Linked DNA regions of Homo sapiens: region 1 is linked to region 2. The links are contacts of gene promoters, found by promoter capture Hi-C in human tissues and cell types (Jung and others, 2019). All regions are on one chromosome and are shown on one strand. Each heading gives the region's core, a stretch centred on a gene start or on the middle of the fragment in contact. The rest is flanking DNA. Distances are from core to core; before and after follow the strand shown. Region 1 has its middle 640 kb from the start of LINC02064. Region 2 holds the start of CDH6 (cadherin 6).

Region 1 (7,560 bases), core at 120-2,619, 1.2 Mb after region 2:
CTCTGTCACCTCTTGAATGCTTTGCTGCTTGGAAATTTCTTCCACTAGATACCCTAAATCATCTCTCTTAAGTTCAAAGTTTCACAGATCTCTAGGGCAGGGGCAATTAGCTGCCAGTTTCTTTGCTAAAGCATAGAAAGAGTGACACTTACTCCAGTTTCCAACGATTTCCTAATCTCCATCTGATATCACCTCAGCCTGGACTTTATTGTCACTATCAGCATTTTGGTCAAAGCCATTCAACAAGTGTCTAGGAAGTTTCAAACCTTCCCATATTTCTTCTGTCTTCTGAGCCCTCAATGTTTCTAGGAAGTTTCAAACTTTCCCACATTTTCCTGTCTTTTCTTGAGCCCTCCAAACTGTTCCAACCTCTGACTGATAGCCAGTTACAAAGTCACTTTCACATTTTCGGGTATCCTTATAGCAGCACCCCACTCTCTGTGGTAGCAATTTACTGTATTAGTCTGTTCTCACACTGCTATGAAGAAATACCCAAGAATGAGTAATTTATTTAAAAAAAAGAGGTTTAATTGACTAACAGTTATATATGGCTGGGGAGGCCCCAGGAAACTTACAATCATGCAGAAGGCTCCTCTTCATAGGGCGGCAGGAGAGAGAATGAGTGCCAAGCCAAGGGGGAAATCCCTTATAAAACCATCAGATCTCATGAGAACTTACTCACTATCTCAAAAACAATGTGGGAGAAACGGCCTCCATGATGCAATTATCTCTATCAGGTCCTGCCCTTGATACATGGGCATTATTACAGCTAAACTGTGTCAGTTCTGTATTCTGTTCCACTGGGCTGTTTCTGTAATTATGCAGGTATCATTCTTTTGATAACTATAGCTTTGTAATATAATTTTAAATAAGGAAATGCTACATCTGTAACTTCATTTTTTTCTTATATTGCTTTGGCTATTCTGTTTTCGTGTGTGTGTGTGTGATTTCATATTAATTTCAGAATTGCTTTTTTCTACTTCCATAAAAATGACGTATTATTCTGATAGGAATTGCATTAAATCTTTACATTGCTTTGGGTAGTATGAACATTTTTACAATATTAATTTTTTTCCCATTTATAGGTATTGGATATTTTCTCATTTATTTGTTTCTTCTTCAATTTTTTTCATCAATGCTCTGCAGTTTTCAGTGTACAAGTATTTCACATCCTTGGTTGAATTTATTTCTTGGTACTATTTTTATACTATCATAAATGGGATAGTTTTCTTGATTCTTTTTAGATAGTTTATTATGTGTGCAGAGAAATCCAACTAAGTTTTGTATGTTGATTTTATACCTGTAAATTTACTGAATTCATTTATTAGTTTGAACAATTTTTTTTTGGAATCCATATTCTGGATAGGAATATGCCATTCGTAAATTGACATCATTTTACTTTTCTTCTTTCCGATTTTCATGGCTTTTATTTCTTTTTCTTTTATTTCTTTCTACCTGTCTTTGATAGGACTTCTAGTTCTGTGTTGAATAAAAGGGGTAAGAGTGAGCATCCCCACCTTGTACCACATCGTAATGGGAAAGCTTTCAGTTGTTTTCTGTTAGTTGTGGTGTCTTCAAAAATAAACTTTATTGTGTTGAGGAATTTTCCTTCTATAACTAAACTGTTAAGAGTTTGTATCAAAAAAAAGATTGCTAAACTTTGTCAAAATCTTTTTCTGTGTCGATTGAGAAGATTATGTTGTTTTTATCTTCCATTCTGTTAATGTGATATATCATATTGATTAATTTGCAACTGTTAAGTCCCGGCTTGCATGCCAGAGACAGATCCCATTTGGTCTTTATCTATAACCTTCTTGATGTGTTGTTGAATCCAGTTTGCTAATATTATATTGAGCATTTTGCATGAATGTTAATCAGGGACATTGGCCTGTAGTTTTCTTTTTTGTGGGGTCTTTGACTGGCTTAGGTATCATCGAGGTGATACTGGCTTCATAATATGTGTTTGGAAGTATTTATATTTCTTTGAATGTTTGCTAGAATTTAGCCATGAAGCCATCTGGTCTAAGACTTTTCTCCGTTGGAAGGTTTTTGATTACTTCTTTAATGTTTTTAATCATTCTTGGTCTGTTCAAGCTTTCTATTTCTTCCTCATTCAATTCCCCTTGCCAAAAGATGTCACTTGGTACATAGTAGCACCTAATAAATACTGTAAAGATGTGTCTAGGTAAATAGTAATTAAATAGAGAATTTCTAGGTATATTTTTATTGTGAGAAGGAAGTAAGATAATCCACATGCTTAAAGTATTTAAAATACGTCTAGTGCACAGGAATCCATAGACAGATATGTGGTGTCATTGCCATAATGTAGAGGATGGGAATTACTAGGTAACAATGTTTTGATTTAAGAAAAAGGAGCAAACATATTAACACAGAATGAGTGAAGATATATAATTGCATACCACTTGTGCTTGAGATACATTTTTCCAATTGTACAATAAACTACGGTGCTTAAATAAAATTCTGTCTGCCTTTTAATGTGGGAAAGTTCATGTCTGAACTATAATCTTGTCTTTTATCAGCATATGTAGGTTTTTTTTTGCCACAACAGGGATTTAAGTCCAGATAGAGGTGTTGTTAGCATACAGTATTTTAAATAAACCGGCTTACATCACTTGAGTTCATGGCCTTTATTTGAATTTTCTAATATTGAAAGACAAAAATCAATAGGTATTGTTAACATGGCGGTAATAGTTAATTCTACAAAGTTCTAGAGTAGAACTCAGGAGGTAAGACAAATAGTTGAGAAGAAAGGCAAATTAAAGAAATTGTGAAGACTATTTAGAAAACAGTACATTCTGCTTTTAATCAAGCCATTTAAACATATTCTTACAAATTGGGATACATTATTAACTTATCTAAATAGTTGCTTCTGTTTTTGGCTTAAATTTTAATAGAGCTATCTCTGATAGAACATAATTAAATTGTCAGAAAAGGCAGAATAAGGGTAGACATTATAGACAATTCCAGGTAGGTAAGACAAAAATTTCATTCTAAATTTAGAGATTAATAAATATGCATTAAAGATTTTCTTTAAAAAAGGATATGTGAAAAAAACTAAATAATTCAAGATGTTGTATTGAAGTTGAAAGACTGTAAAGAAATTCCCTAAAAAGATAAAATCATTGCAAAATATTTACTGTATTTTCAAAAATTTTAGTAATATTAATTTTCTGGTCTTTGAGAAACAAAGACAGTGAGGATATGACTCTGACATCAAGTTGATTACAATGTGTTGGGAAGCAAATGAGATAAGGAACTGAATAATTTCAATATTGACAAGTATTCCATTAAAGAGATATATGCATGACTAACATGACATTGATAATGGAGGAGTCTGGTGTAAATATGAGTTAATAAACAGATGAGGAGAGGGAAAGAAACATTTAAATTTAATTTTGAAGATATGTTTTACTTTCTTATGATCATTAAGAAGACATTTGTTATAAGCAGAGAGACTGCAGAAAAAGAATTTGGAAGTCTGCAGTAATATTTGGGGAATCATCATAACCTTACATGAAGAGAAAGTACACTTTATAGGAGGAATGGCCAGAGATTGATAGAAAAGAAAAATATAAATTACATACCTGGCTTAACAGTTCTTACAAAGAGTATATTAGTATGCTAGTGCCACAATACTTTAAACTTTTTTCCTAGAACAATGTTTTCCTACTTCCTGATGAAAAAGACTCCCATAAAACTCTTTGATAACCACCATCCTCTCCTCCAGCATTGCTGCTCAACTGAAATCCCACTAATAAAACAACTTGTGTCATTCTTTAAGGGCAAGACTCAAAAGACTATTTCTTGGGAGGTATATTTATTGCCTTCAATTCATGTGGAAGTATAAAGGACTGATAGATCCTTTTTTTTTTTTTAACAAAGTACATTTAACAGGAAAAGAGATATAAAAAATGCTAGAGATAAAGACATTTCCAGCAAGGGAATGAAACAAATACCTCGAGTAGGGGAAGTAAGCCTCCCTTATTTTATTTGGTCTCTGAGGCTTATGCTGTTACTAAAGAGGAACAAAGAATCTGTCTTTTATTTATTTATTTCAGCTCATTCACACAAATAATATTTTTCCGGATAATGTAAGCTAAGCCTCATTTATAAAGTTCAACATCATCTAAAATCATAGCATAAAGATTTACCAGAAAAGAAATCAGAACACAACAGTCAGAGTTACAATAAATGGTGTTCTTTATTTCAGACTCATGTAAAGCCCTTGGATTCAGGAAAAACCTAAACCTGCTATCAAATGACATTATTAGAACTATAACAAACACTATTCATCATTGCTGTGGATTTTTTGTGGAGGAGAATGACAGGAGGATGAAAAGAGTATTGTATTATTTTTGGTGGTTAACTCCCACCTTTTATGTTATTTGTTCATCAAATGTTTAAGACGCTATTGTGCCTCCTACCCATTTGTGTAGTACTTAGTGTCTAGCATCTACAATGAAAGTTACCAGCATTATATTCTCTGAATAATGTTCTGATCTGTTAGTGTTGATTTAATTGTCAGCAGCAACAATTACAGCAGAAATTGCTATGATCCCTGGAAAACCTTATAAAGACAGAAGATTCTGAAATTCTAAAGGAAAGGGTTGAGGACTCTCTATTCAATTACCTTTTACCTAGACACATTTTTCACAGTATTTATTAGGTGCTACTAGGTACCAGGTGACATCTTTTGGCAAGGGGGATACAAACCTGAATGAATCAGTCACTGTTGCAAAAACACATACCAACGCCTCAGCAGCTTTCCCAGAGTAAATGTGAGAATATATTCGAGGTAGCTAAGGCTGCTCTTCTTGACTCCTCTCCCTTGTTATTATTGTCAGCAATTAGTCCGAACAACTTCCTTTACCTTCATTTCAGAGTAACTGGAATGAAGGAACACTGTTTATGAAAGTGAAGAAGAGAATAGTGGGTTATTAAAAGCAAACATACTTCCTCCAATTCATCTTTCAGTGAGTCAGATATTTACCTTTGTTGTGGCACATGCAAGTATTTATACTGGCAATATCTTAGTGCATTCGGGCCACTCTAACAAGGTACTATAAACTGGGTGGCTTATAAACAACAGAATGTTTTTTGTTTATGTTTTATTCTCACAGTTCAGGAAGCTGCAAGTCTGAGATCAGGGTGCCAGCATATTGGGTTGTGATGAGGTTTCTCTTGTGGATTGCAGACTGCTGACTTCTCTCCCTGTCCTCACATGGCAGAAGGGACAAAGGAATTCTCTTGGACCTTTTATAAGCAGTAATTCCATCCATGAGGGCTCCACCTTCATAATCTTATCATCTCCCAAAGGTCCCATCTCCTTATATCATCACCTTGGGAGTTAGGATTTAAACTCATAAATTTTGGGGGACACCAACAGTCACATCATAACAACCAAGAACCTAAAATTCAGTGTTGGACCTGGGTAGAGTTCTAATGGCTTCAATGCTGGCAAAGTTTGAAAATATCTAAAATCAACAAATTTTATTTTCTTGAAGATAATCGGTCTCTACATAGACTGTCTTAAAATCAAACCTACATATATAGATGTTTTATTTCATATAATATTTACTATAAAAGCATCTCTTTTATATTTTATGATTTAAATGTGTATGTCAGATATAGAAATATACTGTAAAATGGCTGTGTATGTGCAATTTTGAATAAAATAAATGTTCTTTAAAAATTCTAGAAATGTGGTAAATTGATATAGTCTTTAAGATATCTGATATTTTTATAAATATCTATTTAATTTATTAAAAATCAAGTATGCAAACCAAAACTTAACCATTTATCAATGTTTCAATAAAACTGCATTACATAAAGCACAGAAAATTTTGTCACACAGGTAGAAATAGGAACCTGAAAGCTACTGAGCACTGTATATTTCTCAATGTTTCACAATTATAGAAACATCTGTGTTAAATAACGCTGAGTTGATCCACTCTAAAAATATAGAGTGCTTAATAGCCCAGGGAAGCAAATACATTGCCAACAAGCCACAGGTGTTCACCACAGGAGGACATAAAAAGTGTGATGATGAAGGATGTGATGACATTTCCCAACCCATAATATATATATATCCCAAAATGAACTTATGCATCCATAATTGAGTTGGTTTTTAAAAAATTGTTAATGTGGCATTTAAGCTATTTCAAAAAAAACAATAAAGTTTTAAATGTGCATAATATATTAGTTTTAAAAGTTGATTGCAAAGGCAAAAAAATCAAGTTAGAATCAGAGATTTTATTTCAAAAACTTTCATATGTAATAGTATATGAATAGCTTGTGTCCTACATTGAATCTGAAGTTTTCAATAAGTAATTATATTAATGCATTTCATTATAATTAAATACAGCTTTTGAATTTTAGTAATTCAAATGAAAGCCTTCAGATAGACTATTTACTGTGATAAAATATAATAACCATGCTTCACCTAAACTTTTATTTTTTATTATTCATATAAAAATTTACAAGGAGCCATAATCAAATTGTTCCCTATTACTTTAACACATACATGTAATCTTTTCTTTTAATTCAACATAAAAATAACAGTAAGGCATTTTATAAGCTTTATTAATGCCCCCTAGACATTCATATTTGTTAACAGAACTCAACAGTTGATTATCCATGCTGATGGAAGGTTACAGAAGCATGGATAATGAAAATAGTAGATAATTCAGAAAATCGCAGTACAGTCAAATGCACACACACAGAAACAAGCTCACACGTGCTTATTCAAATATACCACCCTTTATCAGTGCTATAAGTAAATAACTCCAAAGCATTTTATAAAAGAAGAGTTGCTGCCAAAGTACATGTAGATAATAAAAGATAGGTATTACTACCTGACCAAACACAGAGAAAGAAGAATATCTGTCTCTTCCTCTAGAACCTAATAAATGATTTTACGTTTTCATGTAGGTAATTCCAACCTTTCCCTCTAAGTTATCTCTGCCTGACGTGTTCCAGTTATAGTACCAGGCCATTCCCAGTCTAGAGGAGAAAGTATGGCTTTAAGGTCATACACCATTTTAACTGGTAGTTCTGATCAATAAACAATGGTTATAGACCAGAAACAGAAAGTTAAACACCACATGTTCTCATTCATATGGAGAAGCCAGAAAAAGCTGTCTCATAAAAGTAAAAAGTGGTCTGGGCATGGTGGCTCACGCCTGTAATCCCAGCACTTTGGGAGGCCGAGGCGGGTGGATCACCTAAGGTTGGGAGTTCGAGACCAGCCTGACCAACATAGAGAAACCCCGTCTCTACTAAAAGTACAAAATTAGCCGGGCGTAGTGGCGCATGCCTCTAATCCCAGCTACTTTGGAGGCTGAGGCAGGAGAATTGCTTGAACCCAGGAGGTGGAGGTTGTGGTGAGCCGAGATCACGCCGCTGCACCCCAGCATGGCAACAAGAGTGAGACTCAGTCTCAAAAAAAAAAAAAAAAATTAAAAAGTGGAACAAAGGATACTACAGGTTGGAAAGGGTAGGGAGAATGGGGGCATAGGAATAGATTTGTTAAAGGACACA
Region 2 (7,247 bases), core at 4,227-6,726:
TTCATCATGCTATATCACACACAGGATCCAAATGGGTGACAAGTAGAATACTTGGTCTATATTATTACTGTATACTTTGGATTGCAGGCATCAGAGGAATACATGGTTTTTCTATTTAGCATGCAGGACAATAAAGATAATAGAAGGAAAAGAGTTGATATTCTTCAATGCACTAAGGAAATCTTTTCGTTGATTCTGATGCAATTTCAGACCACTTTGAAAAAGATATTCCTCCAGTTAATTTACCATCCACCCAGGGTTACCTCCCTTAGATGGTGATTTTTTAAAGGTAATTTTCAAGTTTGCATTTTATGGTAGAGATGAGTAGTGTGTATAAATATGTTAATGATGTAATTATGTTTATAAGGTGGCATTTAACAGTAGCACTATTTATAAAGAGGAAAATGCACCCTATGTAAAAATGGCAATTTTGATTCTATTTCTATTCTTATGTTTCCCTCTGCTGTAAAAATTTACGTCCTCATCTCTTTCCATTTCACTCACTTGGACACTTCCCCAAGTTAATTTTTTCTTGCTGTTTTCTCTTCCTATAACTTATTAGGTCTCTTGGATATCTTTTGGCCAGACCTACCAATTTAGGAAATTAGAGAAAGAGAAAACACAGTGTTCTTTCAAGTGCTGAAATATGAAGATAAATCATACCCTGTGGTATGCTAGCTTTATGTGCCTCATCTTCTTCATAAGTCGTTTCTCCCACAAGATAGTACCACATACACTAAGAAAAGCTTGCAAACCATGCTGCCCATTTACATGACAAATCAAATTTAATATTAACACTCTGGCATTAATGAAATTCTACCTCTTATAAATCATAACAAGGTGATCTGATTCCTGGAAGAAACCAGCACCCAATGGTGTTAGTGTAAAGATATTAAACAGATGAAATAATCTTTAATAGTCTCTGCATATGAGTCTACTCCACATTTATGAATGTGTGCTCAGAGCATTCAGCCTTCAATAACTTTTCTTTGTTGGAAGAGTTGAAAGTTTCTTGGAGAGTTCAATTTTGAACAACTAGACTGTTGGCTGCAGATGGCTCCCTCTGACCCAACTATTTAGTAGTAATTTTGAATGCACCACTTCTTTGAAGGGTTGTTTATACTCTCCCCTCTTCCCTTATCTTCCTACTTTGTGGGTGATAGCATCACAAACACTATACACATTTGGTTCAATAGCTAATTAGAGAGAACCTGAAGTTCCTCATAAGATTGTTTTGAAAAAGAGAGGCTTCTGTACGAATAGAAACTTAAAAAAGTAGACCAGTTAATCTTTGGAAAAGGCAAGCTGGAACAAAAATATTACTATTTAGTTTCAGTAAAGTGCTTCAAGCACTCATCTGTCTTCAAAATAAAATAAAAATCCCAAGGGAGAAAACAACATGAAAAAAACGAAGAAGAAAAGAAAATCAGCCCATATGCTGCATTTCTGTATTTCTTCTCTAATATTCTTGGAACATTGTCACAACTGGGTGCTGTGTTTGCGTGTGTGTGTATGCCTTCTTCTTTCTGCAGTTCTCCTATTACCATAATGTTCTTGAGTCTTTGAATTTAGAATCATTATTCAGAAAAATATTTAAACCAGAGAAAGTTTGATTGTCTACATTTTCACTTTTTTTGTGAAGTAAATAAAGTGTGCTCAGTAGACACTGACTAGGTTGAAACACTGTTAAGAATGCAATTCAGACTGAGTCACTGCTTGTTATTTTTATAAGTGAGACCCTAATTCTGACGGACACCAAAGAATAAGCAGCCATGACTAAGCAAGAAGCACAAGGCAACTGGATTCTGCTGGATGTTATCTTATTTGGAACACATTTCAAACTTTAGAACAGATTTTTAAATTGGAAGTTGAAACCTGCAGGCTGTCAGCAGAAGAGGCTGATTCACCCTACAGAAATTATGCTGCTCCAAGTTCCAGGCAGAGTATTTTAAGGAGTAGGTTACCTAAAATGTGTTGTGATACATCAAGGAAAGAAATGAAACAGAAAAAACCTGGAGTAAGGATGACACAGGTATCTAAACAGCTTTTGGATGTTCAACATATATTTATTTGAACGGGGAATTCTTTGAATTAGATGGCCTTAGTTCAGCATAACTTGTGAATGTTCACAGATTTCTGAAACAGTCATTGCACTTTTTTTTCCTGCAAATATTTCTTTTCTTGTTGTTGGTTGGGGGGCGGGGGGCGGCGGCGCTCTTCATGTAGAACTTTTGGAGTTCTAAATATAATGTTATTATTGTTATTGAGTAAATTAGAAGTAAGGAAGTAGAGTCTTGGAAAAGATCAGAAATAAGAAAATCTTATATTGATGATGGTAAATTCTTTATTAATTGGCCATTGCTTTCATTTGGAATCATCCAGCAGTTACCAAAAGTCTAGATATTCAGAAAACCATAAAAATATTTGTAAGTCCCCTAAATTAGAGGAAGTACAGAAATAATAGCAATAATGATTTGACCTGTCACAAATATTAAGATAGTGCTTAGAGAATACTAACTTGTCTACAGAGAAAAAGTTGTTATACTCTTATCTTAGGTAACAAAATCCATTCTGCAGCTGAACTCCAGGGAGAAATGCATGGAGTGACCCACTAGAGGTCCCTTCCAACTAAAAAAAGTTTGAATAGTTCAAAGGATTCAGCCTTAGTGTGTTGGCATTCGTGACTGCAAAGCAACTACCGGGCCAGAAGGGGGGACCACACATTTCAATTCCTTAGGAAGATTGTAGTTTCACTCAGAATATTGGTCACATTTCATTCCTTTTAAAGAAATCTCTGTGGGACATTCACTCAATTAGTCCTAATTTTCAGATTTGGTGCTATAATAATACAGTATCATATAATACCCTGTGACTGTAGCTGTGCTTTCTAGAAAATTTTTAGCTGTTTTCAAGTGTCTCGAGCAGTATTTTGCAAGGTACATTTTTTCTTAAAAAGGAAGAGTGCCTCACTAAGTTTTTCCTTGCAAAGCTGATGGAAGTGGTGGGTGGAAGAGGTAGGGTACACGTTTTTTGATAGTAGGCAACTTGGTAGAAAATGATTATGTTTCCATATATTATCTTTGCAGAGTTAGCAGTACAAAATGTAAGTGCAATAAATTGGTGTAAAAGCCAGATAGTAAAGGGACTAAAAGTCCCTATGGAGATACCAAACTGTCACTTTCTTGTAATGGTAGCAAAAGATAATTGTAGACACAAATACAGTAGAACTGAATTGGCACCATTTTCCTTCAAAATTGGGCTGCTGCCTCTTAGTTTTTCTGAAGAAATTGGTTACTTCCTCTGCTTCAAAAGTATGGCATGAACCATTACATTAGGTGGGAAAAGATCTGTCTTTTATTTTCCTTCAGTACCTTTTTAATTAGAACACATCAAAGAGCAAAAGGGGATGAGATACAACCCTATGTGATTGCATTTTCCAGTCAATTGTTGGGTTTCTTTTAAGTTTCTGAGCTCTGCATTGACAATCTGGCCTCTGGCATAAACTTTACCCTCCTGGTTATGACATAATGAAGACATCTGCTCAAGCATACCCCTTTCTTCACACAACTGGTTTTACGGTTCTCTAAAATGCAAGCATAGAGCCGTGCAAGTACTATTACACACGGGATGATGCTCAAGTCTCAGGTGAAACTGGAAGAGATTTTTTTTCTCTCTCTCAAAGTAAAATCCTAAGGGTTTTCCTTTTCAGGTAAAGCTTTCAGCAAGAAAAGAAAGGAAATAAGCAACCCTTGGCACTATTCATATAAGCATATTTGTTAGTCCTTCTTGGAAGAGTTGTACATTAACTAGGCATATCCCTGGGTTCCTTTTTCCAACACAGGGAGGAGTTTGCAACCCCCTGGATAATTAACCACTCAGAAAGCCCACATTTTGATCTGCACCCCTCCAGAGCAGCCATATATGTACACAACAGCCACTCCTGCAACATTCTTGCAGGGAAAACCTCTTCCTTCTTTCCCACTGTGTGCTTTACGAAGTGAAAGTGAAGATTCGCAGAGACACGGTCTGATACACCTCTATAGTATGACTATCATCATTTAAATTTTTTTTTTTTTTAATGGGAGTAGGAGACAGAAATGTGTGGCTATTCCAGATGATTAAACTTCTTGGTTCTTGAATGTTCTGAGTCATAGTTAACTCAGGTGGCCAGCCCTTTGCACTGACAGAGACCTGCATTTAACTCCCCATAAAATATGGATTTTATTGCAGCAGTGACACTTCTTAGCACCACGCTGACCTCTCCAGCATCTCCCATCTCGAGATCTACGGTAACTCATGACAGAATATCTAACTACGGAAGAAGTAATCTCAGCTCTGCAACTGCTGCAGTCCACAACATTGCAGCGTCCCTTTTTATTAAATTCTGGGATTAACGCATTGGGGGCTCCAATTTTCCAGCATCTGGCACCGAAAACCAAGCGCACTCCAACCACTCTCCAATCAGTCCGGGGAAGGCTTTATCCCCCAGATTTGAGCCTGGCCAGCCGTGGAGGAGCACGAGCGAACTGCGCCTTCCATATGACTTTTCCCTGGACAGTGTGCTCCATTTTCGGAGTCCAGTGTTGGACTTTCCTTGCAACCTAAGCATTTCTGTCCTAGATGAGCCGGCAGGCGTTGCCCGGAACGTGCAAGCTAACAGTTTTCTTTAGCTCCTTCTACCAGCCAAATCGTCTCTTTAGTTTAAGTTTTCCTTACTGGGAGCATTCCAGAGTTTTCAGACTACCTGATTTTCTGCTTTACCCCAAAAGCTAAGAAATGTAACTCAGCCCAAGCAGTCACCACGCAGACCCTTATGATGCGGGCAGGTGGAGATAAATCAAGCCCCAAACGGCTCGGCGGGACCTGCACGCACCAGCGCCCTTTGGTAATTGACCAGCCAACTTTGCAAATGCCAGAGCTCCCCTGGCAGCCTCTGCCGGCGTAGAGAAAGGCAGCGGGTTCTTCTGCGGCGGCCCGCTTCCCGGTGCCCCCACCCAGCCCCACGGCGGATCGGTCTTACCAGGAGGCGGAGGAGCGGTGCCCAGGCTCCCCGGGAAGCGGCGTCGGTCCTGAGCAGCGGCAGCAGCGCCGCCCGCGCAGCCGGACCCGCGCGCCCGCCCCGACCCGGGCTCGCAGGCTGAGAGCATCCCTCCCAACTCCGGCGCGGCACCCACCGGGCGGAGAGGGCTCTCTCTCTGATTGGCTTCTATCAACGCTACAGAATTAAAAAAAAAAAAAGGGAGATGTATGCATAGCCAACGGAGCCCGAACCCACCTCTGCTCGCCTTCCTGCGCCCGCGGAGACCCTGCGACCCGCCCAGGCTGCTCCTGCCTCCGCCGCCGCCGCCGCCGCGGTCGCCGGCTCTGCCGTTCTTGCTGTCGCGGCTGAAACTGCAGCTCTTGGGATGCGAAGGTTACGGGCTCGGGAGAGCTGGCTCTTGTGGGCACACACTGATTTGCAAGTGAATGAAGTGGGAGGGAGCAAAGAGAGGAGGACTTTGTTAAAGAGGCCCAGTGCCTGCCCCCGCCCGCCCCCTCCCCTTGACAGAATGACTCCCAGTGTTTGAAGTCCTGAGCAATTCGCTCCCTGGAACACTCCTTCAGCCCCAGGCTTTCCCTTGCTTTCTTTCTTTCTTTCTTTCTTTCTTTTTTTTGTTGGAGGGGGTTTAAGATATACTCAGAACTTGTATGACTCCGTCTGTTTCCTCTTTTGTACTATCAAAATGCACCTTGTGCTATTATCAGCAATGGTCTGATGTTCTTTTTTTTTCACCGACCAAGCAATTACAATTCCCAGGGACACAGTACCTCGTCACTCTATCAGTTGGCCAGCTTCGTGTGATAGCACGTATAACATGCACACACATAAAACAAGCCGGTCTCCTGAGATGACAATACCGATGGCTTTTCTTTACAACATAAACAGGCGTTCTCCAGATGCAAGCAGACATGGATAGATTCATACATGTCTTTCCTTCTCTCCTCCCAGGAAGACACGCTTTCACGTAGCCCCATGATCTCTGTTACTCTTTTGGAGTGACCCCAGGATGTCGTAGCATGAAGCCATGCTTCCCTGGGCTTGCAGAAACACTGAAAACCCAAACCCTTCAGGCTTGCCAATGACTTATGACTGATGCCATCGTTCTAAATGAATTGATACAAGCATACAAAAGACTTGCAGAAGAGGGGTGTACAATGATATTCAAGGTCTGCTTAACGTTCGAAGATCCTTCTGGAAAGTTGCCGAAGTTGGATAACCTTCAAATTAAACTCTTTAGTACACATAGCTGTTTGAATGGCTAGATTGATAGTTACAAAGAGGTAATATCTAATGTTAAGGTACTAAGCCACAAAAATGTGAAACATGTCAAAGTACCATTAAATGAGAGTAATGATTTTCTACATAGGAGACATAGGCATGATGGAGTCAGCCACTGTTGGATTAGGAAAATTAAATCTAATTACCACAGTGATTGCACCCAGGGTCACTAGCCTCCCAAACCAGCTGTTCGCCTGTGCTGCAAGTTCTCAGGGAGATTTCCATTGCACAGAGCTCTAAGAAATGCCAGGCTGCTTGGCCTCTGAGTAGTTAAACTGGCTGGAGGTTGGTCCTGTTCCCAACTGAGCTCTTACTAGAAAACCTTTTGTTTCTCCAATAGAAGTTCAGGCATTTAAATAAAGCCCAAATCAAAAGTATTCCTTTAGGCAGCCAGTGCTTCAAAGAAGTGTGCATGGAATGGTTTTAGCACAGATGTTCTGCACATGGAAGATGGAAAGATTTGAGTTTCTTTCTGGAAAAGACCTTCCCCAAATGAAGAATTGCTACCAATTTGTGAGAAGAGGCTGAACATTTTCTTTTTATAGAGCTCTTTAAACACGTATGAAGTAAGAATGGGGGAGAAGAAAGCTGCTTTAGATTCATAGTCCATTCGTCAGATTATGAATTTCTTATACATTTAATTGGAAATATTAGCTCTGTGTGTCTGTGTAGTCCTTTACTGTTTACAAAGTACTTTTGTAGACTATTTTATTTAATTCATCCTTCAATAAGTGGTGTCATATTTTCCCAATTAAGACAGAGAAAACAGACTGATGAAGAGACAACAGAAGTTACATAACATGTCCAAGGCAGTGAAACTGGAACACACAAGAAGCAGAAATATTATTGGTAAAAGGGTGTGCAGGTGTGTATGCAGACATAGAGACCCACAGATTATATGTACAGGTATAATTTATTAGCATATGTG

Evidence for each region. The method cuts DNA at HindIII sites, captures the fragments that hold promoters and counts their contacts. A contact is called where the count stands out against the background at its distance.
Region 1: a contact is called between a fragment that was not itself captured here and the fragment with the promoter of CDH6 in region 2, in 1 of the 25 tissues and cell types used here (dorsolateral prefrontal cortex).

Annotation. Positions count from the first base shown.
Region 1 is chr5:30,027,770-30,035,329 of GRCh38, reverse strand. No RefSeq gene overlaps it. Among named protein-coding and RNA genes, the nearest start is that of LINC02064, 640 kb to the right of the region's middle. The HindIII fragment of the contact is 5,954 bases long and covers 1-4,346 here.
Region 2 is chr5:31,191,915-31,199,161 of GRCh38, reverse strand. It overlaps CDH6 (cadherin 6), which reads right to left and starts at 5,476. Exons shown (of 12, transcript NM_004932.4): 1 at 5,276-5,476. The HindIII fragment of the contact is 7,217 bases long and covers 2,232-7,247 here.